7 separate regions of the Homo sapiens genome follow, and regions 1, 3, 4, 5, 6 and 7 are each linked to region 2. Evidence: promoter capture Hi-C in 16 types of primary human blood cells and fetal thymus (Javierre and others, 2016). All regions are on one chromosome and are shown on one strand. The core of a region is centred on a gene start or on the middle of the fragment in contact, and the rest is flanking DNA. Distances in the headings are between cores, read along the strand shown. Region 1 overlaps ATF6 (activating transcription factor 6). Region 2 holds the start of SH2D1B (SH2 domain containing 1B). Region 3 has its middle 3.9 kb from the start of OLFML2B. Region 4 has its middle 23 kb from the start of NOS1AP. Region 5 overlaps NOS1AP (nitric oxide synthase 1 adaptor protein). Region 6 overlaps NOS1AP (nitric oxide synthase 1 adaptor protein). Region 7 overlaps NOS1AP (nitric oxide synthase 1 adaptor protein).

What was found. The method cuts DNA at HindIII sites, captures the fragments that hold promoters and counts their contacts. A CHiCAGO score of 5 or more calls a contact.
Region 1: a fragment that was not itself captured here is called in contact with the fragment with the promoter of SH2D1B in region 2 in 1 of 17 cell types (M0 macrophages); the score reaches 7.1 in M0 macrophages.
Region 3: a fragment that was not itself captured here is called in contact with the fragment with the promoter of SH2D1B in region 2 in 5 of 17 cell types (M0 macrophages, M1 macrophages, megakaryocytes and 2 more); the score reaches 7.9 in M0 macrophages.
Region 4: a contact is called between a fragment that was not itself captured here and the fragment with the promoter of SH2D1B in region 2, in 7 of 17 cell types (M0 macrophages, M2 macrophages, M1 macrophages and 4 more). The highest score is 20.9, in M0 macrophages.
Region 5: a contact is called between a fragment that was not itself captured here and the fragment with the promoter of SH2D1B in region 2, in 4 of 17 cell types (M0 macrophages, erythroblasts, monocytes and 1 more). The highest score is 8.6, in M0 macrophages.
Region 6: a contact is called between a fragment that was not itself captured here and the fragment with the promoter of SH2D1B in region 2, in 2 of 17 cell types (M0 macrophages and endothelial precursors). The highest score is 5.4, in M0 macrophages.
Region 7: a fragment that was not itself captured here is called in contact with the fragment with the promoter of SH2D1B in region 2 in 3 of 17 cell types (M0 macrophages, M1 macrophages and erythroblasts); the score reaches 5.8 in M0 macrophages.

What each region holds. Positions count from the first base shown.
Region 1 is chr1:161,910,977-161,915,000 of GRCh38, forward strand. ATF6 (activating transcription factor 6) reads left to right here. Exons shown (of 16, transcript NM_007348.4): 15 at 1,320-1,404. Among named protein-coding and RNA genes, the nearest start is that of OLFML2B, 110 kb to the right of the region's middle. The HindIII fragment of the contact is 2,384 bases long and covers 477-2,860 here.
Region 2 is chr1:162,409,543-162,413,551 of GRCh38, forward strand. SH2D1B (SH2 domain containing 1B) reads right to left here and starts at 2,594. Exons shown (of 4, transcript NM_053282.5): 1 at 2,341-2,594. The coding sequence starts at 2,474. The HindIII fragment of the contact is 13,514 bases long and covers 1-2,777 here.
Region 3 is chr1:162,025,867-162,029,636 of GRCh38, forward strand. No RefSeq gene overlaps it. Among named protein-coding and RNA genes, the nearest start is that of OLFML2B, 3.9 kb to the left of the region's middle. The HindIII fragment of the contact is 3,406 bases long and covers 547-3,770 here.
Region 4 is chr1:162,044,797-162,048,940 of GRCh38, forward strand. No RefSeq gene overlaps it. Among named protein-coding and RNA genes, the nearest start is that of NOS1AP, 23 kb to the right of the region's middle. The HindIII fragment of the contact is 3,967 bases long and covers 1-3,473 here.
Region 5 is chr1:162,088,037-162,092,115 of GRCh38, forward strand. The region is part of intron 1 of NOS1AP (nitric oxide synthase 1 adaptor protein); the gene reads left to right. Among named protein-coding and RNA genes, the nearest start is that of NOS1AP, 20 kb to the left of the region's middle. RefSeq lists enhancers at 3,357-3,952, 3,953-4,079. The HindIII fragment of the contact is 159 bases long and covers 2,090-2,248 here.
Region 6 is chr1:162,131,632-162,135,447 of GRCh38, forward strand. All of the region lies in intron 1 of NOS1AP (nitric oxide synthase 1 adaptor protein), which reads left to right. The region is part of intron 3 of LOC105371475 (a long non-coding RNA gene); the gene reads right to left. Among named protein-coding and RNA genes, the nearest start is that of MIR4654, 24 kb to the right of the region's middle. The HindIII fragment of the contact is 1,187 bases long and covers 704-1,890 here.
Region 7 is chr1:162,110,706-162,115,097 of GRCh38, forward strand. The region is part of intron 1 of NOS1AP (nitric oxide synthase 1 adaptor protein); the gene reads left to right. LOC105371475 (a long non-coding RNA gene) reads right to left here. Exons shown (of 4, transcript XR_007066699.1): 4 at 3,162-3,197. Among named protein-coding and RNA genes, the nearest start is that of NOS1AP, 43 kb to the left of the region's middle. RefSeq lists an enhancer at 689-858. The HindIII fragment of the contact is 1,364 bases long and covers 2,262-3,625 here.

The sequences.
Region 1 (4,024 bases), core at 419-2,918, 500 kb before region 2:
ACACAGTTCTGTTCATGTATATCAATTTCAATTTGTTTTTCACTTTTTAGATTTTTTTCTTAGTTTTGCTGATAATCACACTTCATAATCATATCAACTTTGAACTTTGAAGTTGTGTTGAATTTTTATTGCTCTCAGCTGTATCAGATCCTACTTTTTGATGAGTTATTTCATATAGTAAGTTTGTTGAATGAATGGTGAAACAATGAACACAGGAACAAGAAAAGAAAGCAAAATGCATCAAACTTAGGTTTAGTTTTATCTCCAGTTTAACCATGCTCCCTTAAATGGAAATGCTAATATACTTCTTTTTTTCTTTTTTCTGTAACAGTTCATATGTTTTTGCTAGGAAGAAGAGGAGTTACTGAAAACAGTAGTTAATATCAAAGTCATAAGTCATTTATAATCAGCCTTAGAATGCCTACAGATGTATATACATTTTTCAAAACACTTATACTCTGCCTTTTCTGAAGCCAAGCTTCTCTTGGCTTATTCTTACTTTTAGTACTTGTGTGCTGGAAATTAGAAACCTCAGATGCCCTGCACAGTGTAGGACTATACAATTGTGCTAGGCATGTATTTATAATTCTTTAACTCTTCTACCAAACTGTGTGCTTTTTAAGGGCAAAAACTGTACAACTTCTTTAGCATGCACCTGTCACTTGCAAATAAATGTCTAATTCTGTGGTCCCTTCAAAGGGAGAAGAGGAGGCTAAGCAGGCAAGGCTCTAGGCCTTGGCCCTGCTTCAGTCAGAATCTTTCTTGTACATGTTGATAATTTCTTTCTTCTACAGATAGAAAATTCCTGGGATAAGAATTTTGATGGGAAAAAGAGTTTATTGCCTTTAAAAAAAAAGTTTGAGAATGACTGTTTAGGGGAGATACTCTCAGTATCTTGTGACATTATCTAGTCTAGCCCCCATCATTTTACAGGACTGGAAACTGAAACACAGAAAGGATACGTAGTCTTGTCCAGATTATACAGCTATTTAGTGGCAGAATTAGAATTAAAATCCCTTGTCTTGACTGCTTGACCAGTATTCTTTATAGTGGTGCTACAGCATATGTGTTGTAAAAACCTAGGAGTTTTCCAAGATCACTGCATAGTGCCTGACAACGGTAGACACTCTGTAAATGTGTATTACATTAATGAATGAATGATTCTAAGCTGGTTTGTAGTTAATTAAGCCAACTTCAAATAAAAACTATAATTTTTCATCATCCCAACGAAATATTGACCTCTTAGAAGCCCTGAATTTGGCCTGTTCTAGGACTAAGCCAATTGTTATATATAACAGATTGTTCTTTGTTAATTTTAGGATCACCTGCTGTTACCAGCTACCACCCATAACAAGACCACAAGACCAAAAATGTCAATTGTGTTACCAGCAATAAACATAAATGGTAAGTTGAAATTCTGATGTATGAACAATATGAGATTTCTTTGTTTAACCAGGATTCTCTTCATTAGTTCAAAGACATTTAAAATGTTCAGTTAAATGAGTATATATCCGTACATTATTTCTGAAACATTTTTCCACTGTTTTATTATTTTTAAGATCCATTATTCTTTTAAAAAAAATTACTACATCCCTAAAAGAAAAAGTAGCTTTCTTTTACTTACAAAATTGGAAAAGCTAGCATCTTGACTGCTCTACAGACTTGCATCTGCGACCCTTCTAGTCATAAATGTAGTGTAAGAAGCCCCTGCTGTGTTCTGACAGTGAATTTGTAAATTAGATTTTTGGAACTCAAAGCAGTTTCCTGTGTTACCTAAATGTTGATATCATCCTAGACCATGCCACAGAAGCCTGTTTATGTTTAATTGATAATACTGATGAGTTTGACACTGATAGTATTACTATTGCATTTTGTTATATTACTAGCCCTGGACATTAAACAAAATACAAATAATAATATAATGCACAGATGTTAAGGCATAATATACCTGCTTATAGTTTAGAAGAAAAAAAAAGACAAGCACAAAAATCACTGTACTCCAAAGAGAAAGTCACGTAAGTAATATGTGAGGTACTAAGAAATCTAGTGAAAAGAGATTACTTTCAGCTTGATTCTTCATGGAGAAGTGAAATAACTCACTCCCATTACCAGTTGTGGATTATAAATGAGCACAGTGTATGTTATTGACTAATTGCTTTCTCTGACACATTATATTGAAAATCGGAGAGTTGGCCATCTTTTTCAAGTTTGTGTATCTCACATAATGTAGGTACTAGTAAATTTTCTGTCTGGTAGCAAAAACCTCAGTATATGAAGAAGATGGAAACGAAAAGCCCTTTGAACTAACCTGCAGTCGAACCAGTTCACATTTTGATTGATAAATATAATTAAACCTTCAAATACAATTATAAAACAAAACACTAGAATTTTGGGGGGATTCCAGATAAGTTTCAATAAAATTTAGTCTTTAGGGGAAAAGTGGTATTCATCATACATTTTAAGACCATAGAGGACCTTAGAATTTCATGATCTGTATATAGACAGCTTATTAGAAATGCTTAGGAAGTAACTTCATAGACATAAACATAAATGGGCTTTTTGTTAAAGCATAAAAATTACAATATTTACTTAGCCTTACAAAGACATTCAGAATAAGTTTAAGAAAAACAGTAACATTGAGAAGAACATCTCTTTCTTCAGTAAAGACATACCTTTGAAGTTACTCATGGAATAATCATTTACTACCTGAAGAAGAATATATTCCAAAGTGCATTTTATTACATTCCAAAGAATGTATTTAGGAAGTCTCACTTATACTCAATCTATAGGTACCTAAGTTTCTCTGCCTAAACTAGAATAGACCAAAGGGTCAGCTTATGCTCAGAAAGGCTATTTTCTAAGCTTTATCAAGGCAGAATTCACTTAATTTTGTTCTTCTGATATTGGGTTCTTATGCAAGAGAATGCCTGGTCTTATTTTGTAACAGTGAGCTATCTTTATATTAAGCCAAAACCAACAAGATGCTGTTTGACTATGTTTATCTTGGCCAGGTGACTGATTTTTGAAGAGGAGCCTTTCATGGATTTGGAAAAATCCAGTCATTAGAGGATCATTGTCTTTTTAATCTGTTTCAGACTCTTTGTAAATAGTCTTTTTAAAAACTTCCCTTTTTAGGATAAGTCCTATTAAAAAATCAAAATTCAAATTCAAGAAATATTGATTGAATATATACCGTGTTTCAAGTACCATGCTACATCCTCAGCCTTTTCTCTTAACAGTCTTGCTCTGAGGATACTTCTTAAATTAGAGCCTGATTTTTTCCCCTTCCTCATGTACCTCAAAGTCTGCAGCAGGGCAGGTGGTATCCTTGCTTCCCACTACAACTTTCAAATTATTTCTCCTTCAGTCCCCTTAACATCTTGCAAATCTGTCACATCACACTTTACTCCTCTAACCCTTATTTGTTGCTGCCGTCTACTCCACCTTCACTGACGACTCCTCCACTGCCTCTGTCATCCTGCTGTCTAACTTCAGCATCCGCATAGAGGAGTCATTAGTACTCTAGCCTTTTTTGATCCAGTCATCTTTTATTCCGCGCCACCTCAGCCTCCCATCCATATGGTCATAATCTAGACCTTATCATCATCAACAGCAGCACTCTCTTTGAAATCTCCTTTTCAGGCATCCCACTCTCTGACTGTTACTTACTCTCTTACTTTAAAACTCACACTCCAACTACTCTCTTAACTTACAAGTCTACAGTCCTTTGACCCTGCCACTTCTTTTCTGTGTCCATCACATCCTTAATGGCCATACATTCCTCCTTACCCAGCTTAAATTCCATGGTCCTGTCACCACTCTCTTGTGAACACCCCTTACTTCCTGGCTCCTTTCTTAGGTCCCACTTTCTTGGAAAAACTGCTTTCTAGGTAAACCCAGCTCTTCTCTCTATGCCTGCTCTCAAGCAGCTGAAAATTGCTAGAAAGTACCGTTCAGTGAGAACAAGTAGATTCACTTCAAATTTGTGACCATTAATTTCAAAGGGATATTTAATATGCCAGTC
Region 2 (4,009 bases), core at 1,344-3,843:
CCATCCCATTTACATGTAAGCAGATCTTTTCCACTCTTTGTTTATTTTATTTGAGATGGAGAGTCTTTCTCTGTCTCTCAGGCTGGAGTATAATGGCGCGATCTCGGCTCACTGCAACCTCTGCCTCCTGGGTTCAAGCGATTCTCATGCCTCAGCCTCCCAAGTAGCTGGGATACAACTGCACCCACCATGCCTGGCTAATTTTTGTATTTTTAGTAGATGGGGGTTTCATTATGTTGGCCAGGCTGGTCTTGAACTCCTGACCTCAGTGATCAGCCCACCTCAGCCTCCCAAATTGCTAGGATTACAGGCATGAGCCACCGCGCCTGGCCAATATATATTTTTCTTTAAATGGTACTGTTGGATGTAGATATGAGAGAAATAGCCTGTATCTCCAGTACCATTTAAAGAAAGAAATATGTCCCTGTGTATTCTATTAGTAATGACAATCACTTTTGTCTATAATCAGACTTCTGAGCCTATTCCAAGGCCCATTTGTGTACTTCCTTGTAAAATCCAGTTTTAGCAAAGAACCCTACTAAGTCAGTTTGGCAAGGACCCCTCACCCTAGCTATCTGATCACTGTTGGATTCTGATCAGATTCCTCATCCTCCACCATCCCCCAGGCAACATCTGATCACCCGGGCCTGTCTTCAGCTACAATTCTGTTAGGCTGGTTTAGCCAGAATCCACTTTACCCCTGATGTTTCCTCCGAGTAATTTTCTGTCTACCGACAGCCACACTGCTCCTTGGCCATAAATTCCCACTTGTCCATGCTGGATTCAGAGTTGAGTCCAGTCTCTTTTCTGTGCCGCAAGAGCTCATTGCAGTGGTCCCTGTACCTTTGTGATGATCCTGAATAAAGTCTTCCCAACCATAATTTAACAAGTGACATTGAGTAATTTTTTTCTTTAACAAGAGACATTTGGATTTTAATTTCTGTTACAGGTATAATAAAAGGTTCAGTGGTCCCTACTTTACAAAGAGGAACATACATAAAGATAGGAGGTTTCTAGTGATTTCTGTTCAGGATTGCTTTCTAAACTGGGCATAAACAAGTTCCTTCAGCTAGGTCTCTTTGATACTGTGGCCTGGAATTTGTTTTTCTTTTTCTTTTTTTTTTTTTTTTTGAGATGGAGTTTTGCTCTTGTTGCCCAGGCTGGAGTGCAATGGCACAATCTCAGCTCACTGCAACCTCCACCACCCGGGTTCAAGTGATTCTCCTGCCTCAGCCTCCCAAATAGCTGGGATTACAAGCATACGCCACCACACCTGGCTAATTTTGTATTTTTAGTAGAGACGGGGTTTCTTCGTGTTGGTCAGGCTGGTCTCGAACTCCCGACCTCAGGTGATTCACCTGCCTCCGCTTCCCAAAGTGCTGGGATTACAGGAGTGAGCCACTGTGCCCAGCCACTCTTTTTTCTTTTTTTTGGACAGAGTCTCACTCTATTGCCCAGGCTGGAGTGCAGTGGTGCAATCTCAGCTCACTGCAGCCTCTGCCTCCTGGGTTCAAGTGATTCTCCTGTCTCAGCCTCTCAAGTAGCCAGTATTACAGGCACACGCCACCACACCAGGTTAATTTTTGTATTTTTGGTAGAGATGGGGTTTTGCCGTGTTGGCCAGGCTGGTCTCAAACTCCTGACCTCAAGTGATTCACCTGCCTCAGCCTCCCAAAGTGTTGGGATTACAGGCATGAGCCACCATGCCCAGCCTGGAATTTCATGTTTAACTTAGACTCTGGAAATTCCAAATGAGTTTTAACACAAACAAATTATTTGAGAAATTCAGGTCTCTGTTTCTTTACCTATGAAATGGTGACTGCTTATGCTTGCCTTGATAGACTACTAGGATGAAAGGAAATGACGAATATTGAAGTCCTTCACAAATCTAACAAAATGTGAAATATGATTGTATTTATAGTTTACGTATTGCAAGCAGATGCTGCAGAATAAGTGTTTCAGATTGAAATTTCTTGAAGAACCCCTAGCCTTTTCCATACCAAATAAACAGATCTCTGGAGGACAGGACCTCTGACATTTGTACCTTCTTTCCATCCCTCTGTACCCCTGTACTTCCTGCAGCCCTTCCCTTCACCACCACCATGTCCCTCCTGCTGCTGCAGAGTCTGCTTGCAGGGCCTTTACACCAGGGAGAGCAGGCAGATGGAGGAGCATGGACAGATACATTCCTCTCCTGGCAGTGTCCATTACTTCTCATTCTACTCATTGAGACTCCAAAGTCAGAGTGAAATACTGAGGGATATGAATTCCTGTACTGTGTGGCAGCCATTGCCACATTCAACATACGATGTCAGATGTGTGCAAGATGAGGCTACTCACGAGACACAGAGGCACAGGACTCCTGGTATCGACTCGCTGTCTCTTAAAAGAAAGTTGCCATCCACCCCTTCCTTGAGCAGCAAGGTCTCACAGTCTTGCTTGGTCAGACGTCCATGGTAGTAAGGCAGATCCATGGAGAACGCTCTTGTATCCCAGGAAGCCCTGTTGGCCTGAAATTCACCCCCAAGTCAAGGGACAGCTCTGAGGAGAGATGTGTAAGCAGCTGTACCTCCTGTGGAGCTACCTCTTCCTCTAGCGGTCTGTGGGACTCAGCCAGCTTCACAAGATTCAGGAAATGAGGAGGGCGGGGTGATAAAATGACCAACACTTTTCACCCTCTAAATGGCCCACATGTGACTCACAGAAGTAGGTAAAGCACATTTAAACACACAATGGAATCAGTGATGCTCATGGCTAGGGAGGCAATGCTGAAGTCAAGCTTCCTGGAACTGTGTTGCAGCCTTGTATATTACCATGGACTATCATCAACTTCTTTGGCTACTGGTATCCTTTCCAGGAAGCACACCGCTGCTTTTGCTGTAATGGTACCCATTTTCTGCTGAAGTTGCCTAGGATTGGGCTATGCTTAGCTTAGACTGGGTGCTCAAAAACCATTTGGATGCTGAGAGAATTGATATGCTCAGATACAATGGGAAAATTGAAAGGGTGGGATTTCCGTGGATCAAATGACACTAAAAATGGAAGACATTAATGGCAATAAAAAACAGTGGGACACTGTGGATGAGGACAGCCCATTCCATGGCTAAGGCTCCCAGCCACTGGTGAAAAAAGGCCATTTGAACACCCTCAAGCATTGTTCCTTTTGGAGAAAGGGCTGGTGTAGGTGGGAGGGATATCTGGGTATACTCATATATCTACAGAAAATCACTATATATATCTCAAAAATGTTATCTATGAAAATAGAACTATGTGCTAACGATTCATCTTTACTTCTCTTAACTTCTTCTTTTTTTTGTTTTCTTCATCTCCGTAGTACCTGGAGATCTTAACTTCTTCTTAACCTAGATGTTTATTTCACCTTGCTACTTTGCTTACCAGCTGTTTACTCACAGTTGGGTGTATCTTCTATGGAACTTCCTTGTAACAGATCTTTGTTCTTCCTTGGAATTCCCACTCTGCATTTGGCATAGTGCAGTTTCACTGATCAGGGAACTCGTTATCAGACAGATATGCTCTCAAATAGCAACTTTTCTTCTGTGGTTTTGGACAATTCATTATTCAATTCTCTGGAAACTATGGCAGTTGAAGACAGAGTTGTTAATAATGAAAGAAGAAATTTGGTATTTCTTGTGAATAAATTCACAATCGTGGTGTAAAGATGCTTTTTGACATAAGAGAGGAAATAACTGAAAGCATGCTCAGGCTCTTGGTCATCACAGGGGCTTCCTTGCCCTTTTTGCTGTTTCAAAATCCAACCCTCACAATAAAAGAAATGCAAATTACCTGCATGCTGAGATAACAACTCTCACCTATCATATGGGTGAAAATCAAAAGTTTGAAAGCTTATTGGGTTGGTCATGGTGAAAGAAAATAGAATATCTTGTATATCATTAGTTGGAATAAAAAATAGTTACAACTATAGTAAAAGATGGTTTGGCAATATCTTGCAAATTTATGTATGCCTTCACCATCTGATAGAACAATCTCA
Region 3 (3,770 bases), core at 1,000-3,499, 380 kb before region 2:
CAACAAAACAGTGGATAAGGCAACATGATGGGAGGGGGGGCCATGGCAGGGGAGAGAAAGAGAGCATTCTGGGCAAAGACATAATCCTGAATGTGCATATTCATATTTCAGATGGCTGCTCACTTCTCAGGGCAGCCTTCCTTGACTCCACCACCAGCATAATTTCTCTATTAAATGCTCCCATAATACCATGTACCTCTTTTTCATAGAAGCAGGAGAGATGGATATTTATATTCCTCCTTTGTGGGTTGTTTTGGGGGTGCCTGTCTTCCCCACCAGACTATAAATTCAAGAGGGCAAGGACCTTGTTAGTTTTGCTCACCATTACATCTTCAGAGTTTAACCAGTGCCTAGAACAAAGTGGACACTAAATAAATATTGGTTGAATGAATGGAAATTACGAATTGTCCAACTGGGTGTAGGCTCAGTTACCTTTATAAATACCATCTCTGTATCCATTAGGGTGCATTTGACTGCAAGTGATAGAAAATCCTTCTAGGAATGTCTCAGTCAAATATACATTTATTATCCCACTCTAAGAAGACAAGCTTGGCTGTTTAAAATTTAATTCAGCAACTCAGTGATGTCAGCGAGGACCCAAGCTCTTTCCATTTTCCACTCCATTATTCTTACAGCATTGGCTTTTTGACCTAGTCATAATTGATTTAAGCAAGTCCCAGCTACCCCTGTGCCAGACATTCAATTTCCCAGTCTCCTTTACAGCTAGGGGTAACCACCCGGACAAGATATTTTGCTTCCTGATAAAAGAAACAAATAGGAGAGAGGACCTTTCTGGTGCTACTCTTCCCTCACTTCTTGTCTTTGATTGTGTCTTTGACCACAGTCAAAGTGTTATAGGACCAACAGGTTCTTATGCCCGCTGTGCAGTAACAGACCAATTACACTATGTCAGCAGGGTTTGCAGCAGAGAAAGAATTTGATGATTGCAGGGCACCACGTCAGGAGATGGGAGGAGACCCTTGAATCCATCTCTCCAAGGAGCTCTGGGCTGGCGTTTTAATTTAAGGGGATTGTGGAGAGTGAGTGGCTAAAAAATTGAGGTTATTAATTGGTTGGGCCAAGACGATGGAACAAAGTTCTATCATCAGGATGTGGAAACTGCCTTCTTTGGTGAGTCAGGATCTCATGGGGTCCTTCAAACTAGCTGAGTCAGTAGCTTCATCAGTATGCAGGACCCAAAAGAGTATCTCAAAGGGAAAACATAATGTTTCATAATGTTCAAGTTGTTTTCTATAGAACAGTTAAGGGGCTTTATAATCTTTTAACAGGATCTATGTGATTCTGAGGCAATAGGCACAGAGTAACTATGAGGAAACAGGTCAGAGAGCAAGTAGACCTCACGATTACTGCTGAATGTGCTGTGAACTTGGTTTATTTTCATTTCTTCCCTTTCCTTCTTCCCTGGTTAATTTTATAAAGTTTATAGGGGCTGTTTCAAAAGTGCCAGGAGCTGTGGCAGCCATCTTATGACCATGAGTCCTTTCTCTTATCTAACTAAAATATATTTCCTTTAGGGTCTACTTTTAAAGTCACCTTTTAATGTCCAGTCCTACAGTCCTACACAGAATATGTCTAAGGACTTTCTCACGGAGAGTTTCATTCCTTTCACTTAAAGATAAATAGTTAAGTACTGGCCGGGCATGGTGGCTCACGCCTGCAATCCCAACACTTTGGGAGGCCGAGGCAAGTGGATTACTTGAGGTCAGGAGTTCAAGACTAGCCTGGCCAACATGGCAAAACCCTGTCTCTGTTAAAAATACAAAAATTAGCTGGGCCTGGTGGCACACGCCTGTAATCCCAGTTACTTGGAAAGATAAGGCAGAAGAATCACTTGAACCGGGGAGGCAGAGGTTGCAGTGAGCCGAGATCACACCAATGCACTCCAGCCTGGGCAACAGAGAAAGACTCTGTCAAAAAAAAAAAAAAAAAAAAAAAGGTTAAGTACCTTCTAAATATCCTCTTTCTCAACATCACTAGCCCACTTTCTTCATCTTTTATCTCCATTATATTCAACTGTTTCTCAAACCACATGGCCTTCCAAACTCTTCATTATTTTGGTTATTTTCTCTCTAGAAAGACTCCAGTTTGAGTAGATATTAGAACCTATTGAAACAATTTGTTCTTTTTTTTTCTGGGCACTGTGCTTTTATTAATGCAGCCTAAGATTACCTTAGTTTTGGCAGCCAGATTGCACCAACGACTCACACTGATTTATCTTTTAAGTGTAGTTTTTAAATTTATTTTTGTGTGAATTTTTTACTGGTTTCCTCCATTCTGTGCTTTCCAGCTATGTTCTCTCTTTTTTTTTAATCCAAGTATAGGTGTTTACATTTTTACTGTAACAGTGTGATGATTTTGGTCCATTTTTTCATCCTGTTGAAATATTGCTATTTTTGCTTTTGTCCTGGTTTTGCATAATTTCCAAATTCACTAAGCATAGTTTCTGTCTTAGTTCAAATGATTAATTTTAAAAAGCCATCTTCCTTCAGATAGGGCCATATTCTAGAGCTCTACCTCCATAATAGGAAAAGTCTCTCCTTATTGATGTTAACCGTTTTGGTGTATGACTGTTCAGGCAGTCATGGGTGTTGGTGCCTAGTCCACATGTCTTCATCATGTCTACAAGCATTTCTTGAGAGACTTTTATCACTGTCTTTCAGAAATCAAGATACACTGCTCATGGCATTGCTTCTACCTGCCTGCCTGGCAACCTGAACTGATGATTCTGTGATGAGCTTGGTTTGGCTTTAGCAAATTGGGTTAAGTGCTTTTTACTTGTGTTAAAAAAAAAAAAAACATAGCTGGAAAGCACAGGATAGAGGAAACCGGCATAAAATTCACATAAAAATCCCTGCATCTTTTGCTCAGAGCCTATGAATTCCACGTCACTGGATCCTCGCATCATGGTGTAAAATAAGTCTTGCCCTCCCTGGTTAACAGATGAAGTCATTGAAGCACCAACACAGTGATATGTATGATGGCGACTCTGTACTGAGTGCTTCCCATGTGCCAGGCATCATTTGACGGTCAGAAATCCCCTGAGTCAGTATCATTTCCTCTTACAAATGAGGAAACAGGTTTAGAGACGGACAGACTGTGGAAATGTTCCAAGAACTGGGTCTCAGAAAGCCGTAAGTGTGCCACTTCATCTATCTTAGACCCTGGACCTCACCAGTTGTGGCTGGCTAGCAGGTTGTTGAATTCTGGGGATCCCTCAGCAACCACAACCACCATCCCTCACGAGCCAGTTTGCATCTGGCAAGAGCATCTGTTTTCCCGTTTACCTAGGAGCCTCCTGACTTTGCTCTGAAATGTCTGTCTGTTGAAAATTAAGGCTTCATTTGCCAGGTGGGGCCAAGGTGGCTAGAAATGGCCTGCCACCTTTGTGTGTAATTGAGAAAATGCACCTGCCCCACGGCAGCAGAATCAAAGAGCAAGGCAAAGTCCCACGAGCAACATCATTCTGCCATCTCCTTTCCCTGGCTCGCTGCAGAGTGGGAGCTGTGCCAGGGAACTGCCATAAAAATGCTGGAAAGGAATGATGGAAAGCACAACTGAAAATGAGGTCTTTTTTCCCCTGGTCACCCTGCTTTGCTGCTTTCCTGGCTTCTTATTTTGCCTCTGATCTTCTACATTCTCTCTCTCCTTTAATTCAGTTTAATTCATTTATTGAATATATATATTATGAGCCAGGCACTCTGTGAACTGCTGAATACACAAAGATGAAGATGACAAAAAACCTTTGCCTT
Region 4 (4,144 bases), core at 240-2,739, 370 kb before region 2:
TCTTATAAGGACACCAGACATTGGATCAGCATCCATCTGAATTCAATATGACTGCATCTTAAACCAATTACTAATGGAGGCTGCAAAGACTTTATTTCCAAATAAGGTTTCATTCTGAGCTTCCAGTGGACATGAATTTTAGGGGACATTATTCAACCCAATATAGCTAACCAACCAAGAGTGGAGAAAACATGGAATCATAAAAAAATTTAATAAATGAGTTGATTATTAGAGAGTAGACAACCTCCTCAGGTATGAAAAACAATATAGTTAAATCTCTATCAATTTTAACTTGGCTAACTAGTTAAAATGCCCAGTTGGTGAGTGGAAGGCATGATTTGTTTATTTATGCCCATCTAGTATCCATTTTCTTCTTTTTTCTTGCTCACAGTGATCCACCTCTGTCTCAGTGATTCATTGGATGGTAACCCAAAATCCTGCTCAGAATTAAGTCATAGTTGGCTTAAACTGCTGGTGTTGGTCCCATTTTCTTGCCAGTCACTTATTTAGAGGTGAGCATTTTTGGCCAATTATTGGCCAATGAAATGTGGTGGACATGACTGAGATTTTTCTGGGAAAAGTTTTTCTTGCCTCTAACGAATACACGTTAGGGGGCCCGGTGTGGTGGCTCACGCCTGTAATCCCAGCACTTTGGGAGGCTGAGGTAGGCAGATCACCTGATGTTGGCAGATCACCCGAGGTCAGGAGTTCGAGACCAGCCTGGCCAACATGGTAAAACCCCATCTCTACCAAAAATACACACACACAAAAATTACCCGGATGTGGTGGCAGGCACCTGTAATCCCAGACACTTAGGGGGGCTGAGGCAGGAGAATCTGTTGAACCTGAGAGGCAGACGTTGCAGTGAGCTGAGATCAAGCCATTGCACTCCAGCCTGGGCAACAAGAGTGAAACTCCATCTCAAAAATAATAATAATAATAATAAAATAAGAAATATGCCTAGGAGAAGCAATCCCTTTCCTATCTCTGAGTATTTTTGTGTTTGAGTGCCATGTTTAGAATTTGAATGGCTGCAGCCATCTTGCTACCAGGAGAACCACAAAGAAGAAGAGTTGGACCTGGTGCATGATACATGGAAATTCCCAACCTCCAAACATCTTATTATAGGGAAAAATACATGCCTTTTTTTGTGAAGGCCAAAATGAATGAGGATTATCTGTTTTTGCTGCTAAAAGTATTCTAATCAATGGAGTAGGTCTACACAAGGCCTGGGTGAATAAGCCCAAATTTTCATTAATCACAACTGTATGAATGGGAGATACTTCCCATTCTAGGACTACACTCATGCATCTTTTGAGGGCCAAGAATGAACCAGAAAACTCCTACCAACATAAAGATGAAGATTGCCTGCCTTTGACAAATGTCTTAAATATTTCATATCTAGTTACGAGTTGTAATTTTTTGTGTTAATTTTCTTTTTTTTAATTTGAGATGGAGTCTTGCTGTGTCGCCAGGCTGGAGTGAAGTGGTGCGATCTCGGCTCACTGCAACCTCCGCCTCCCAAGTTCAAGCAATTCTCCTGCCTCAGCCTCTTGAGTAGCTGGGACTACAGATGCACACCACCACGCCCAGCTAATTTTTGTATTTTTAGTAGAGATGGGGTTTCACCATGTTGGCCAGGATGGTCTCAATTTCTTGACCTCGTGATCCACCTGCCTCGGCCTCCCAAAGTACTGGGATTACAGGCGTGAGCCACTGTTCCTGGCCTGTGTTAATTTTCTTTTTCTTGGTCACATATTTAGCCTACAACTTAACTGTATGGTATGGTGACTGTATCAATCACATATCTTCATATGTAAATGTCTTACAAAACATCTTTTATGTAGGTAATTGTGTAAGAGTAAGATGAGGGTAAATCTGACATTATGATAGTACTGATGTCATAATAAGGAAAAAATTTGATATTTAAATCTTCCAATCAGAATTTTTTAATCTTATATTTTCATTTTGAAAATATTCTAAAAGTCAGATGTAAGGTATTCTAGAACATATAGAATACTTCAGTGAGATTTAAAAGTGCTCATTTACATGTGCATTTATGATTATGTTGTCACCCAGTGATCCCTAAGTGACAGTGCTTGATTTTTAATGTATTGATAATAAAGTTTGATATATCCTAATGTCAAAGTGGCAATTGACCCATGACTGTTATTGTGGTCATGTTAAATTCTTTTAATAGTTTAAGGACAAAACTTTTCTTCTGCAATGATAATTTATGCTGCAACATCATTGAGTCTTCTCTTGGCATAAATGCATTATTCATATTTTTTTAAGGAATTGAAACTCCTGAATATAGTGTTGATGCCTTAAGTGCAGATTATTTTGAATTCAGCTGCGTGTGCTATTGAATGCCTTGGCATGATTCAGTTCTGCCCCCATTTTTCTCTGTCTGAACTACTAAGAAGACTCTATTCCCTGTGACTTCATTGAACTCCACTGGGCTTATATGAAGATGCAAATGCAGACACAAACCTTGAAATATGTGGCAATATTTGATTATATGTTGGTGTTCCAGATGATCCCCAAATATCCTTTTTATTGCTCTTCCTTTTAAAAATGAAACAGAAGCTCAGAAATGTGAACTAATGTTTCGAGGTGGCATAACTACTAAACAGCAGAACCATAATTTGAATTTAGGTATTTTGGCTGCAGTTACAGTGCTTTTCCCATGAGTGTTTCCCAAGGTGATATGCATACTACTGGTGATATATCCGATAATCTTAGGTGATAAGTGGGCAAACATTTTTAACAGTTTTCTAGTTAAATGTTGTTAGAAAATATAATTAATTATACATCAAAACTGCTTCCTCAGATTTTTGCATAGGACAGGGCTAACATAGACAGTGCCACAAAAATCCATCCTAGGACACATAAAACACAAGGTACACTCAGGCAAGTGTATGGATGTTTTCAAATTCCAGTAACTGAACCTTCCATTATATAAATTATTGATGTTAGAGATGATATACATCAGTTACATGGCTTCTCATATAATGAATGCTTGCATCCTTTTCAGTAAAATATTCATCTTTCTTCCATAAGCTCTCAGTTACTTGCAAGATCGGTAAGACTGTTTCTCATATATAATCTATTGCAGCAATAGGAAAAATTACTCACTGATGTAAATACAGGATGTCTTTCCCACCAGAGAATCATATGAATATTTAACAAATCTGCTAAAATTGTCAATCACATTAAGAGCAGCCCAATATATTTTTGACTTTTTCCCCTCAAGATAGGTGGTGACCACAGATGACATTTGTTTTATAGGTGAGTTTAGTGGCCTTTGCAAAAGTCCTCTCTTATCTATTCAAGTTGCAAGAACTTCATGGCTTCCAGAAAGAACTCATCACTCTGTAAAATTATATGCATGATTAAAATTGACTTTGCAAGCTAGCTTATTCCATAGATATATTTGCTCATCTGAAAAACTTGTTTTTCCTCTCAAGGCAAGCTTATGAAAATATATCATGTACAAAACCAAATGCACACAATTCTCACGAAAATGAAATAAGGAATACATGCCATGATTGTGTGGTCTTAGTTTCTTTGTGTTATCTAAATTATCTGGCTCTTTGGATTTCTGAGGTTACCAATAACATCATTTCCTCCTGTATATTCTGTGTGTATATTTACTTTGTGTCCTGTGACTTGTTATATCCATTTATTGGTTCATTTTTTATAGATTCTTCAGGACTTTCTATGTAGATGATCACATTGTCTGAGGATTAAGACAGTTTTATTTCTTTCTTTCCAATCTTGTCTCATTGCATTGCTAAGACATCCAGCATGGTGTTGCATAGAATTGAGAGAAGACTTGTTCCCCATCTTAGAGGGGAATGTATTTAGACTCATCATGAGAATAATATGAGCTGAAGTTTTTCATAGATTTCCTTTTTTATATCATCTATTTTAATTCTCCCATTAAGCTTAGTGTTTGGGTAGAATTGTCTCCATTTACAGATGAGAATACCGAGGCTCAAAGATGTTATATAAATTTCCCACAATCATACAGCTAGCAAGAGGCAATCAAGACCCTGATGCCAGTGCTGTTTCAACTGTATCAGTGATTCCATTTGTCAAGTGTCTGGTGCTTTATTCAATTTAAATCATTCACTTTGGA
Region 5 (4,079 bases), core at 919-3,418, 320 kb before region 2:
ATTTTGAAAAGCATCAGAACTCTATAGGGTCAAATTCTGCGGAAAGGCAAAGGATAAAAAAGATTTAGTTATGATCTTGGATTTCTGTAGAAATTCAAGCAGGAAGAGGCCTATATGTGCTTGAGAGCCCCAGGGGTTGTCCCAGAAGCCAGGGTCTTGGGCTTAAAAGCCGGCATTGTTGCTGACTGTTTGAGGGCTAACACTTAACCTTGCTGCCTCAGAAACCTAATTTCATGTAACAGTACTTTGCAACCCTGCTGCACCATAGGATCACCTGAGGAACTTATAAAACATGGATACCCACTGCCCCTAGGGATTCTTATTTCATATGTTCAGGCTGGGTTCCTATCATCATTGTAATTTTAAAAGCTCCCAGGTGATTTTGCCATGTGCAGCCATAAGAACTGCTGATGTGTACACAGAATAAGGACATTTGTGAGCAGAACTGGGTTGTTCAGATTATCGAGCCTGATTTATGAGGCCAGAATTTCTTTTTATGGATTGACAATGAGGAACCTAATTGAAAAGAGTTACTGGATATACTTGGGGATACAAAACCAGCACTTATCTCCCTGCAGGTAGGAGGGTGGTGGTGAGGAGGGGGACAGATCTCCATCAGAAGGGTATTTGGGAATGTTTAATGGCAGCAGGCCAAGACGGTTTGAGGTGTGCCCCCAAACAATGGTGATGATTTCCTCTTTGAGGCCAGATTACTCAGTCTGTAGGTCAAAGGCCTCCTCATACTACTAAGCATTTGGCTGGACACTGCTAGCTGTGTGTCCAGACTGTGTGTGTGTGTCCAGGGCTGAGCAGCACCTCCTTCCCCTTCCTGTGGTAACGTCTTTATGAATTATGAATTTATGAATACATACAATCTGGAGACCGATACCTCTTTTGGTATCAGGGATTTTCTCTCCCTCTCGCCATTCTCCTTCCCCTTCATCTCTCTTCCACTCCTTGTGTATTTTGTGTCTCAGACCTGGAATCAATCATTTCTCCAGGAAGACCTGGTATCTTTTAATGCAAAATTGTATTTCAAGACCATTATCTTGGCACCAGGGATGCTAATTTTTATTGAGTTGGCCATTGTCTGTAGGTCTTTTTTGGTGAACAGAGCTGGGAAACTACACATAAGGAAAGAGCAAGGATGAATGTGATAGATGTAAACATACTTGTGTGTTCATACTGATATTTCCAATATCTTAACTACTTCTGTATTTCATCTGATCTTTTGTCCACACTGAGAATTCTGGTTTTCAAATACATAGGGAATAACAGAATCCAATATTCCATAATTACTCACTTGCTTTATCCTACACTACACAATTAGGAATCTCAGAATAGTAGTACAAACACCAGCACCAATTATGATTACTGAAAACAGTCCAAAACCTTTTAAAAAATATGTCATCTGTATCCTTCACCATCTTTTAAAATGGTTATACTGTATTATTGTGATACTCTGAGTAATGGTCCCTCAAAAAGTATTCATGTCTTAATCTCTGGAATCTGTGAACGTTACTTTACATGACAAAGACTTTGTATATGTGATTAAGTTTAGGATCTTGAGATGGTGAGATTATCCTGGATTATCTGGGTGGGCTTTAAATATAGTCACAGTTGTCCTTACAAGAGGGAGGGAGGGGGAGATTACACACAGAAGAGGAAAAGACAGTGTAACCACAGAGGCAGATATTGGAGTGATGTGGCCACAGCCAAGGAAGGCTGGCAGCCTCCAGCAGCTGGAAGAGGCAAGGAATAGTTTCTCCTCTAGAGCCTCTGGAGGCCGTGCAGCCTGCCAACACCTTGATTTAGGCCCAGTGAAACTGACTTCGGACTTCTGTTCACCAGAGTTATAAAAAATAAATTTCTGTTGTCTTAAGCCTGTAGCTTTGTCATAGTTTGTTATAGCAGCCCTAGTTAACTAATACAATCATATAGTCATTACACATTATAATATTTCCTTTTTAACCCTCATTTAGTTTTTAGTTCTTCAATAATTACATATTTAATACTTACTACCAAAACTTACATTCTTGTTTCTAGTCACTTTGATTATCCAAAGTTCTTCTCTAGTATCCTTAGGAAAAGCTTATGGAAACAATATTCCCTGATTTTTTTTTTCTGAATGTTGATAACATTTTATCTATGCTCTTTGTATGCGAAAGGTCAAAACTGCTGAATATTAAATCTGTGGTTGACATTTTTTAAAAAATCTTAAGTGTTATTCCATCTACTTCTGGCATAAAGCTTGTTGTAAATCTGATCTAATTTTTCTTTTCCTTATAATTTGTATACAGTTAAAATTAGATGCTGCCTAAATTATCTTTTGTAAAAAAAAAAAAAGTCTGAGAATTTTACTAGAGTATATGTTGATATTATTCTGAGTCAGTATTCTCAGGTAAACAATATGTTCTTTCAATATCAGGTTTCAAATAGTTTTTTTCCAGGAAAGTTTTCACAGACTACTGTTTTTAGAATTATATTCCTTGCTTTGGTTTTGTTCTTCCGGAACCACTCTTATCCATATGTTGGTTCTTGTTTGCCTATCTTCGATGTTTGTCACTTTCAAATCCCTTTGATCTCTTTCCTATTATTTCTTTTTAATTAAAAAATTTCCCTAAGTTTCAGGCAGTTTTTAGGTTTATTTTTTCTTATATTTCTTCTAGTTTAGTTTTTATCTCTAAAATAGTTTTCTTTTTTTACTTTGCTTTCTTGAGTTTTGTCACTTTATTTCTGAATTTTTCTAATTCTAATTTATGTTGTTCTTTCATGCCTTGCATAATTTAAAGTATTTTTAGCTTATTTAAAAATATGTCTTTTTGGCATGCTTTCACTATCACATATTTCTAAGGATGTTATTTTGTTCCTTATTCTCTCTTTTTTTATAGAAATGTTTATGGATTTGACCTTGTTACTTTTCTGTTGTTAATTTTTATGTAAACTTAGTTTTCCTGAATTTTAAAAAGGAGGGTTGGTTTGGTAGTATTTCTAACTGCACAGAGAAATGGAGATTTAAAAATCTCTTGTTTTCATGGAGATTTAAAAAATGTGGTAGTTCTGTTTCCATCTCTCTCTTTTACCTGAGCCTTCTCTTTTCTTTGTCTCTGTTGCCTGTCCTGCTTCATTTTGATTCTGTTCCCAGCAGTTTCTCTTGGTGTGGAGTCCTGTCCTGGGCAATCAGTTTTGAGAGTTCCTAGTGGCTTGAGTGCTCCAGCCCTTCGAACCTCCTGTGGGTCCCCTGTTGTTCCAGGTTCAGCGGCAGTTCTCCAGTTTACCCTATTGGCTCTTTTGGGTTCAGGTTCATCATATGCCCCATTGCTTCCCTTTGATTGTTCCCACATAGACATCAATATCATACTGGCTATTGGTGATTTGTCTCCGATAACTTGTCACCAAATTTTGTTGAGTGTCATCCATGAGTTTTTAAATTTGCTATTTAGTTGCTCTGTTTATTTTTTGTAGAGACTGTGGAAGACTCAATAAATATATTGCCACCATTTTCCCAGAATTGGGATATTGCTTTTAATTTTCACTACAGTGTGGCAAGTTGCTGACTGAGATTTTAAGTTATTTTTCCCCCATGGAGCAGCAAAACATATAAAGATTTGAGAACATAGGATAAGGAATGAATAAATCCTGCTTATGTGTAATTACATTTGAGCAACATGTTGATGAACAGCTAAGGGAAGACAGAGATCACAAGTTTCCTCCTCCCACTCCTCAAAGAGAGAGGGCACTTTACACAGCCCAGGAGCATGTGGAGTGCTGTGCAGTCTTGCTGTGTTCTGGCTGTTTGCTCTAATTGATCTGTCAACCACTACGTGGGCATTAAGTAATTGGGATGTGACTTCACTGGGGCAAGGTGGGGTGGTCTGCAGAATATACAGGAAGAATCAAATATAGAATCACGGAGTGCTGGAGTTGGAAGGGACCTCAGAGATCACCTCTGAGATTAGGTCCTAAATCAGCTCTGTTATTTTGCAGATGAGGGGGACTGAAGTACAAAGAGATGAAAGTGACTAGTTCAAGGCTGTGGATCCAACAAAGGATGGGATTGGCATTGCAGCTTGTCCTGA
Region 6 (3,816 bases), core at 47-2,546, 280 kb before region 2:
ATTCAAAGGTGATTTGATTTAGCTGCTGTCCAAGCTCAGCTGAAACAGCCCGTTTTATGGGCCTCTTGGACCATTCTGTGAGCTCCAGTGTTATAAGGCGGCATTTTTTTTTTCTTTTTGGTTGGGAGGATGTGATTAAGATAAAGAGAGGAGGAGAAGGCACCAAGGTAGACAGAAAATGATTTTACATATGGCCTCAGTCAGTATGTCTGGCATTATTCCCTGTACTGCTGTCAAACTTTGGGCAAGTATCTACAGTTCTCTAATCTTTAGGCCTCTTAACTGTGAAACAGAGGTAGCAACCTTGTTTGCTTATTTAATGGGATTGTCACCAGGATCAAATGAGATGTGTGAAAATACTTTGAAACTGTAAACTGCACAGTGAAGGGTCCTTTAAATGACTATCAAGAAATCTATTTGGTGATAATGGCATGTGTGTGTCCCAGACATGTGATTCCTAGGCCTGCCTGGAAGGTGAGCTGAAACATTATGATCACAGTGGAGGATTATGGGAAGTTTCAAAGTACAGTTCCTGGGAGGGTGAAGGACTCCTGACTCTGCCAAATACCGGATGTGCTATACCAAACATAATGCTCCCTCTAACAGAAGTTGATGGCATCCTTGGATTCTTTGGGAAGGTGACGCACATTGGAGGAAATGCAACTCAAATATGCCTCCCCAGGCAAGAGAATCCATAGGAAGAAGCTTGTGATGGGAGGATTTACATCTGGAGAGATTAGAGTAGATGGATACAAAGTGATGCTAGTATGTAAAATAATTTTCTACCCACCTCGATAAGATCCTCATAGGAGAAATGATCTTTGTAGAAAGATAAAGTCAAGAAAAAAATACAGAGATTTCTCCGTGACCTTCAGGTCTAGTGAAACACAGGAGAATTGCCTTTGGACAGGATTATCTGATAAAGTGAGATCACGGCAATCAGATGATTATTATTTAATGATAGCACTTAATAATTGCTCAGCCTAATCTTAGCTCATTAAAGCAATATGGAAAGTAGTAGTAAACTTGGTTTGAAACTGTTATTGGTATAAAATATTTTGATGATGACATAATAGGAATCTATAGCATAGCTTCCCAACCCACAGGTCTCCATATTGATTCCTCCAGCCCTGCAAATCTATGAGTGACCCCTCCCAGGTTCCACACTCCTTCAGTTTTCCCCAGTTACCAGTGTTCTGGGTGCCATGGATAAAGGTCTGTTTCTGAAACCAGAGCTCTCTTCTTGCTGAGATTCTCCACTTTGCCTGCATGTGCCCCAATTTCCTTGTTTGCTCTGGCTCTTCTGTCAGAGCTATACACTTACTTGTCTTTTCTTTTGTGATCTCTTTTGACTTGGCGCCTAATGGAAACTTCTGCATCAGTGAGGTCCAGTGTGATAGTAAATGATGGAATATTGCAATATCACGTGTTGGCTGGGATTTCTGGGTCCATTGCTTCATATCCCATCTGAGTTCATTCTGTAGCAGCCATTTACCTAAAATATTTTCCAGGTGTGTGCTTATTATATTAGTACGCTTAATTTGTCTATATTCTTGGGTTTAATCTTTGAAATTTTGAATTAAACTGTATTAACAAAGACAAGTCATTATTTTATTAGATGCACTGTGTTGGTAATGCTTTCCTAAGTTGCCTCAGAAGATCTTCTAATCTTAACAAATGTTTTGTCATATTTTATCCTTTATCTGTCTTATCTATTGATTCTTGCCTAGGACCAATTATTGTAGATATCATACCCGTCTTGGTTACCATTGTGCCTAAACCCAGATACCATTTATAGTTTTATCTAAAAGTCTATGAATGAAATCATACTCTCTTGCTGTCTTATTATTCTAAAAGTGTGATATTTTATGTGAACTAGATTTTATAACAAGCTTTCCTTTTTATAATCTGGCAGCAGTATAAATTGTTGATGTTTATTCTTCTATCCCTTTTACATGATAGATGAATCTGTTCAATTTTGGCTTTTGAGTGACTCATATGTGGTTAGCATTCTGCTGTGGCATTGGGTGGTCTTTAGCATTTTATTGGACTATTTTATGAAACATCTCCAAAGAAATATGTTGGAACTGGTATTTATTACCTTAATCTTATTGTCTGCCTTGAGAAGCTGCTAACTAAATGTTTTCTCCAGCTTTTCCTTAATTGCAGTGTGGTTAATTCCTCTCAACTGCAGGAAGCCAAGGTATTTATAGATTGTTGTTATTATTTTTTGTGGCCTGTAGAAGTAATCGGCATTCAACGAATGCCAAGAACATGCTTGGCATGAAGTAGTACATAGAATTAGATCCAGTTCCTGCCCCATGAACTTGATGTGAGATAAGCTAACTGGGGAGGAGAGAAGGAAGAGAAGACTTTCCAAAAAATTGTATCTCTTCTAAAATTGGGAGAAAATGAATTTCAGTTTAAAAGGAAACCTTAAGAATTCAATTAATAGGATAAAACACAGGTGAAACAGTCAGTAAAAGCTAAGACACTATTTATGCTAAATTCATGAATCTAAGGAGTGAGCTATAGTAAGCCCTGGTATAATGGATAATTTATCTCAAAGCAAAACTGGGCTGGGCGCAGTGGCTCACACCTGTAATCCCAGCACTTTAGGAGGCCGAGGCAGACAGATCACATGAGGCCAGGAGTTTGAGACCAGCGTGGCCAACATGGCAAACCACCATCTCTACTAAAAATACAAAAATTCCAGGTTTGGAGGTGCATATGTAATTCCAGCTACTGGGGAGGCTGAGGCATGAAAATCGCTTGAACCGGGAGGTGGAGGTTGTACTGAGCTGAGATCACACTACTGCACTCCAGCCTGGAGTGACAGAGGGAGACTTTGTCTAAAAAAAAAAAAAAAAAAAAGTAAAACCGTAGTGCTGTAAATGGGGGAGGAGAGGAAGGAGAGTAGGGAAAAAGTCAAGATGTGGAGATGCATGCATTCAGTGGAAGGATTAAGGAATCCTGAAAATTACCCTGAATTCATCTCCCTCTCCAACAGCCACATCTGATCAGTTTCCAAGTCCTGTCCCTATTATCTCCCAGATATCCTCTCCTCCTATCCCTGATTCTTTTGCTCTGTTTTAGGTCCTTCTTATCTGTCACTGGTCTCTTGTCATGTCCTCTCCAATCTATCATCCATGAAGCAGCCATATAAACCTGATCAAAGTTCGTGGCTCAAAACCCTTAGGTGGCTGCACATGACTTAAGAGTAGCAATGCAAGGCCTTCATGACCTGACCCTGCCTGCATGTTCAGCCTTATCTCATCTGGCAGAGGACTTGTAGCATCTGAACACACCAACAGGCCATGCTGCCTCAACTCTCCATTTCTATGCACGCTGATGTTCCTGCCTAGAATGGCCTGCCTTCTCTATTTCTATCCAACCAACTATTTATCCTTCAAGTTCAAAAATTATCTTCTCTGTGAGTACTTCTGACTTGTATCCAAGCAAATTAGGTGTTTGCCTTTCTGTGCTTCTACTGGACTTGGTAGATATAACCTTATTACAGCAGTGACCTTAGCACATTGTCACTGTTGAATCATATGTCTCTCTTTATGTGTACTGTTAACGTTTAGAAGACAGATGTCATGTCTTTTGTTTTTTATGTCCTCAGAGGTATTGGTTGCCGGCTGATGGAAGGACTGGCTGGGTCATGTCAGGATGCAGGCTACTCAAGGACAGTGTGGATACTGAGTATCTGCAAAGGTTTTCGACTTTCATATACTGCAAGGGGGAAAGACAGGCTCTTGGAATTGTGGGAAGATGAATTTATTTCTCATTCTGGAAGGTTTCCAGTACTGGAGG
Region 7 (4,392 bases), core at 1,694-4,193, 300 kb before region 2:
CTGTGTGACAGGCATGTTTGGAAACTTGAGTTCTGTCTAACATTTAAAAATAATAAAATTTAATTTTCATAAAACCCCTATGATGTACATATTAAAGTTGTATTTGCTGTGTGACATTGGATAAAATTAAATAGTTTCCAAAGTCGCAGCACTAATAAATAGTAGAGCCAGGATTTGAATCCAGGACTGTCTGATGCCAGGCCCTGAGCTGTAGCCATTAAGTCACTCACTGATGTCCATTCATTCAATAGCAGATATTTATTGAGCATTTACTCTATGCCAGGTACTGTCTCAGGCACTGGGGATACAGTTGTGATGAGATGGATATCCTCCCTTGTCCTTATACAACTTACAACTAGTGAGTAAGACAGACAGTAAACAAGATATTTTTAGGCAGTGATGAGTGGTTTGTAGGAAGTAAAACTGGGCAATGTGACACAGAGTGTCTGGAGTATAAGACTAGGATGCTGCTTTAGGCCTTTGGGGGCTTGTCTGAGGTCAGATAGGACTAGAGTATTCCAGCCAGAAGGAACAAGTAGAAATTAAAGATCCTATAGTTGAAACTGGCTTGGTATGTTTGGAGAACAGAAAGAGAATACAGGAGAGAACATGAAAGCCATTGGAGAGGCAGTGCTCATCCAAAAGCATGGATAGAGCTCCCCACATCCTCATCCCAGCCCCCTGGTGATGTAGGCGTGGTTGGGGCGAGGAGTACTGCCTTTGACCGTGGAGGAGAGCTTGTTGACTTGTGATGGGACTCATTTCTGAGAAACAAGCTCTGTCCCAGAGGAATGACATATTTCTTTCAGACCATGGGCTCTGAAGTCTCAAAACAGTAGGACAGGGATAAGTAGTTGAGACCTGGCTTGATGGCATGTGTGAAAATGATTTTGGCGTCTTAAACGGCATCAAGTAGAAGCAACATCAACAGTGTGGCCTTATTACCAAAAAAGTTGCTGCAGTCAGAGGCTTTCCTGAAGGATGACATACAGAGAGGTCAATGCCTGCCAAATACAAGGAGAATATTTCTGGCCAAAAATGGAATAGATGTCTTGGAATGCTGATGTAGTCCCTCACAGTCATCGAGAAGCTGCTCTGCCCCTGGTCAGGAATATTGCAGAAATGAGTCAAGCCGGGTTAGTGTTGGAAGAAGAGTTGGACTAGCTCATCTCTGTGGGCTTTCCAACCTGCAGTCCTCAGGGCCTCATTGCCAGGGTGGCAGTCCATGGCAGTGGTGGTTGGTAACAATTTATGGGAGATGAAATATTCAAACCCAAATTATGTTCCTAACTGGTTTACCGCTCAGGCCAGTGCTCCTTCGTGCTCCGACTCTTCTCACTGTTCTGCAGCCTGTGGTCACTGAGTTGCTCTGGGATCCCTATTATTTTTATTGGTACCTTATTTAATGCAGCTCTACATTTTCTAGCTAACTGGTACCATCTGTCTGTAATCACACTTCTCAGATCTGCCTCCTTGTCATCAGCCTACCTCCCTCTCTGATGGTTGGGAACTAGTTGTATTCTCCGAAGACTTGCTGTACTTTAACATTTTTACTTGGCATGGCCAACAAAAGTACCATATATTGTCTGTGGAAGCCAACAAAAGAAGGCTTGGAAAAGAAGGCTTGAGTTGTCATCTCACGTTAAGAGCATCCTGGCCTCTAGTGGAGGGTATACAAGAGTTGGCTCTAGGTTCTGATTCCTTTGTTACTGGGCTTTGACTGTGTAGCCTTGGCCCCCTCTTCAAACCCCTCTGGGTTCCAATTGGTTTATCTCTAAACAAGTTGAAGGGATTAGACCAATGGCTCCCTGGAGGGCCCATCCTGCTGTCAGATCATTCAAAGATGTTCATTGCCAGTTCTTTGCACCATGAGGAACATATTTGGACTTTTAGACAGGCTCTGACTTCTCAGAGCTTGCAGTCCAAGACATTCTGACATGGATGCACATTTAAAAGACAGACACTTTATAGATAGATTATTGATCAATTTTGCCACTAGTGTGAAGCTGTCACTTCTGAAAAAGGGATATGTTTTTCCTTCTCACTTTTACTGCTTTGGTTAAATCATTTGCCCTAAGAACTCCCTCAAATATAGATGTGCATATGCCATAGACTGAGTATATTAGCATTATAAGCATGTCAATGCCATAATAGCACCTTTTTGCATAAATTTATGTTCTTTATAACAACTTTATGGGGTGAATTGCTTTAGTCTGCAATAAAAAGATATGGGAATTCAGAGAGGTGAAATTTCCCTCTAAAGCTTCTGAGCTCCTTCATTATGCCTGGCTTCAGTGCCTGTGCTTTGTTTGCAGTTCTGGGCTGCATCTCTGAATAGGTATATTAGGTCAGTGGGTATATCAGGCAGAGGGTGGTGGGGATAGGGGGTTACTGAGGGAGTTAAGTTGACAGGATCAGAGATGAGGATCCCTGGTTTCTAGAGAGGAGGCTGAGGGGAAGCCTACACCTCTTCTCCTGATAATCCTGGCAGGAGGTGGAGCATGAGTCTGACAGCAAGCAGGTTATGGGGGATGTTGGTTCCCATAGTAAGCACAATTGTTGGAGCATTACTGGAGGCAGTCCAGGCATGACTTGGTTGTTAGGACGTCCACACCTCAAGCCTGCAGAAGTGTGTCTGGCGGCCCAGTGGGGTCCTGGCAGCCCCACAGTGGAATGTGTTGTCGGGCAAAGGCTGCTGATGAGGGCACCTCCTCTAATGAGTCCATTCTTGCATTGTTGTAAAGAAACACCCGAGACTGGGTAGTTTATAAAGAAAAGAGGTTTAATTGGCTCATGATTCTGCAGGCCGTACAGGAAACATGGCAGCATCAGCTAGCCTTCTGGGGAGGCTTCAGGAAACTTATGATCATGGCAGAAGGCAAAGGGGAAGCCAGCACTTTACATGGCCGGAACGGGAGGAAGTGGTGGGGGTAGGGAGGGGTGCCACACACTTTTAAACAACCACATCTTGTGAAAACTCTGTATCACCAGAACAGCACCAAATGGGGAAATCCGCCCCTATGATCCACTACCTCCTGCCAGGCCCCACCTCCCATACTGCGGATTACAATTTGACATATTTGGGAGAGGACACAAATCCAAACCATCTCCTCCTCTTACCTGTCCATCCTTCACCTCTTAGGAAGGAGGGCAGCCACAGTAGAGCACTTGCCTCTAGTTGCTCTTGAGCACCCTTCCTGGGTAAGAGAATTAAAAAAAAAAACAATTTTATGATTCTAAAGGCAGTGTTATTACAGAAAGTTTGAAAACCCAGAATTTATACAGAAAAACACAATAACAACAATGGGAGAATGTTTCCCGTGGTGGTGTGGTAAATATGGCTTCCTTGCTCATTTGTAGTTTCAGTTTAAGGTGGCACAGTGTTTGGATTATAAACAAACACTTAATTTGAATGGAAAGAACTGTGGTGTCTTTCACTCTAAAACCCCAGTGTAGAAAGAGGCCATATTATTTTCCAGCAGGACAAGATCACCCTGTTTAGCTGGTGTATCAGTCAGGGTTCAACCAAAGACGAATAGGGGATATATATATGAAGAGACTTATTGCAAAGAACTGGCTTATGTCTCTGTGGGAGCCGTTAGACAAGTGCAACATCTATAGGGCAAGCTTTCACGCAGAACTCTCAGGCACAAACTGAAGCTGCTGTCCAGAGGCAGAGTTTCTTTTTCAGGGGAACTTCAGCTCTGTCCTTGAGGCCTTTTGACTGATTGAATCAGGCTCACATATATTATCTTGGATGGTTTCCCTAAAAGCCAGCTAATTATGGGCCTTAATCACATCTGCAAAATACTTTCACAGCAATACCTTGATTAGTGTTTGGATAACCAGGGACTGTAACCTAACCAAGTTGACATATACAAAATATCATCACATCTGATAATCTGTCCTCTTTGAAAATTAATCTGGGAAATTGGATGCATCATCTGCCTTGGTTGTCCAGCCCCTCTTTCAACAACCTTCCTTGCTAGGACATAATAAGGGCTAAAGTCAATCCCAGTGGTCTCATCGGGACCTGCCTACCTGCAGCATCGTGTTCTGTCTAGATTTTGTCATATTCACTTGTATTTCTGCTTCCTAGGTATGCTTAAGTCATCGTTTGCGTCTATGTGACCTCTCCCCGTGACTAAATCGGAAGTTGTTGTAGGGGTGGGATGGTATCTCCTGTTGCATTTGTCTGTCCCTTGATGGTCTAAGTGCTGCAAGTGCTCTAAGTGGCTTTTCAGTAAACAGTGACTGATATCCATGAGTTAACTTCAGGTCCCATAATGGCCAAGATTCTTATGTCTCCTTGTTATAGCTCCTCATGGAAGAAGGAGCAGCTTGTTTCATTGCATTTGTTTTTGTTCATTCACTTACAGATTGCCAAGTAAG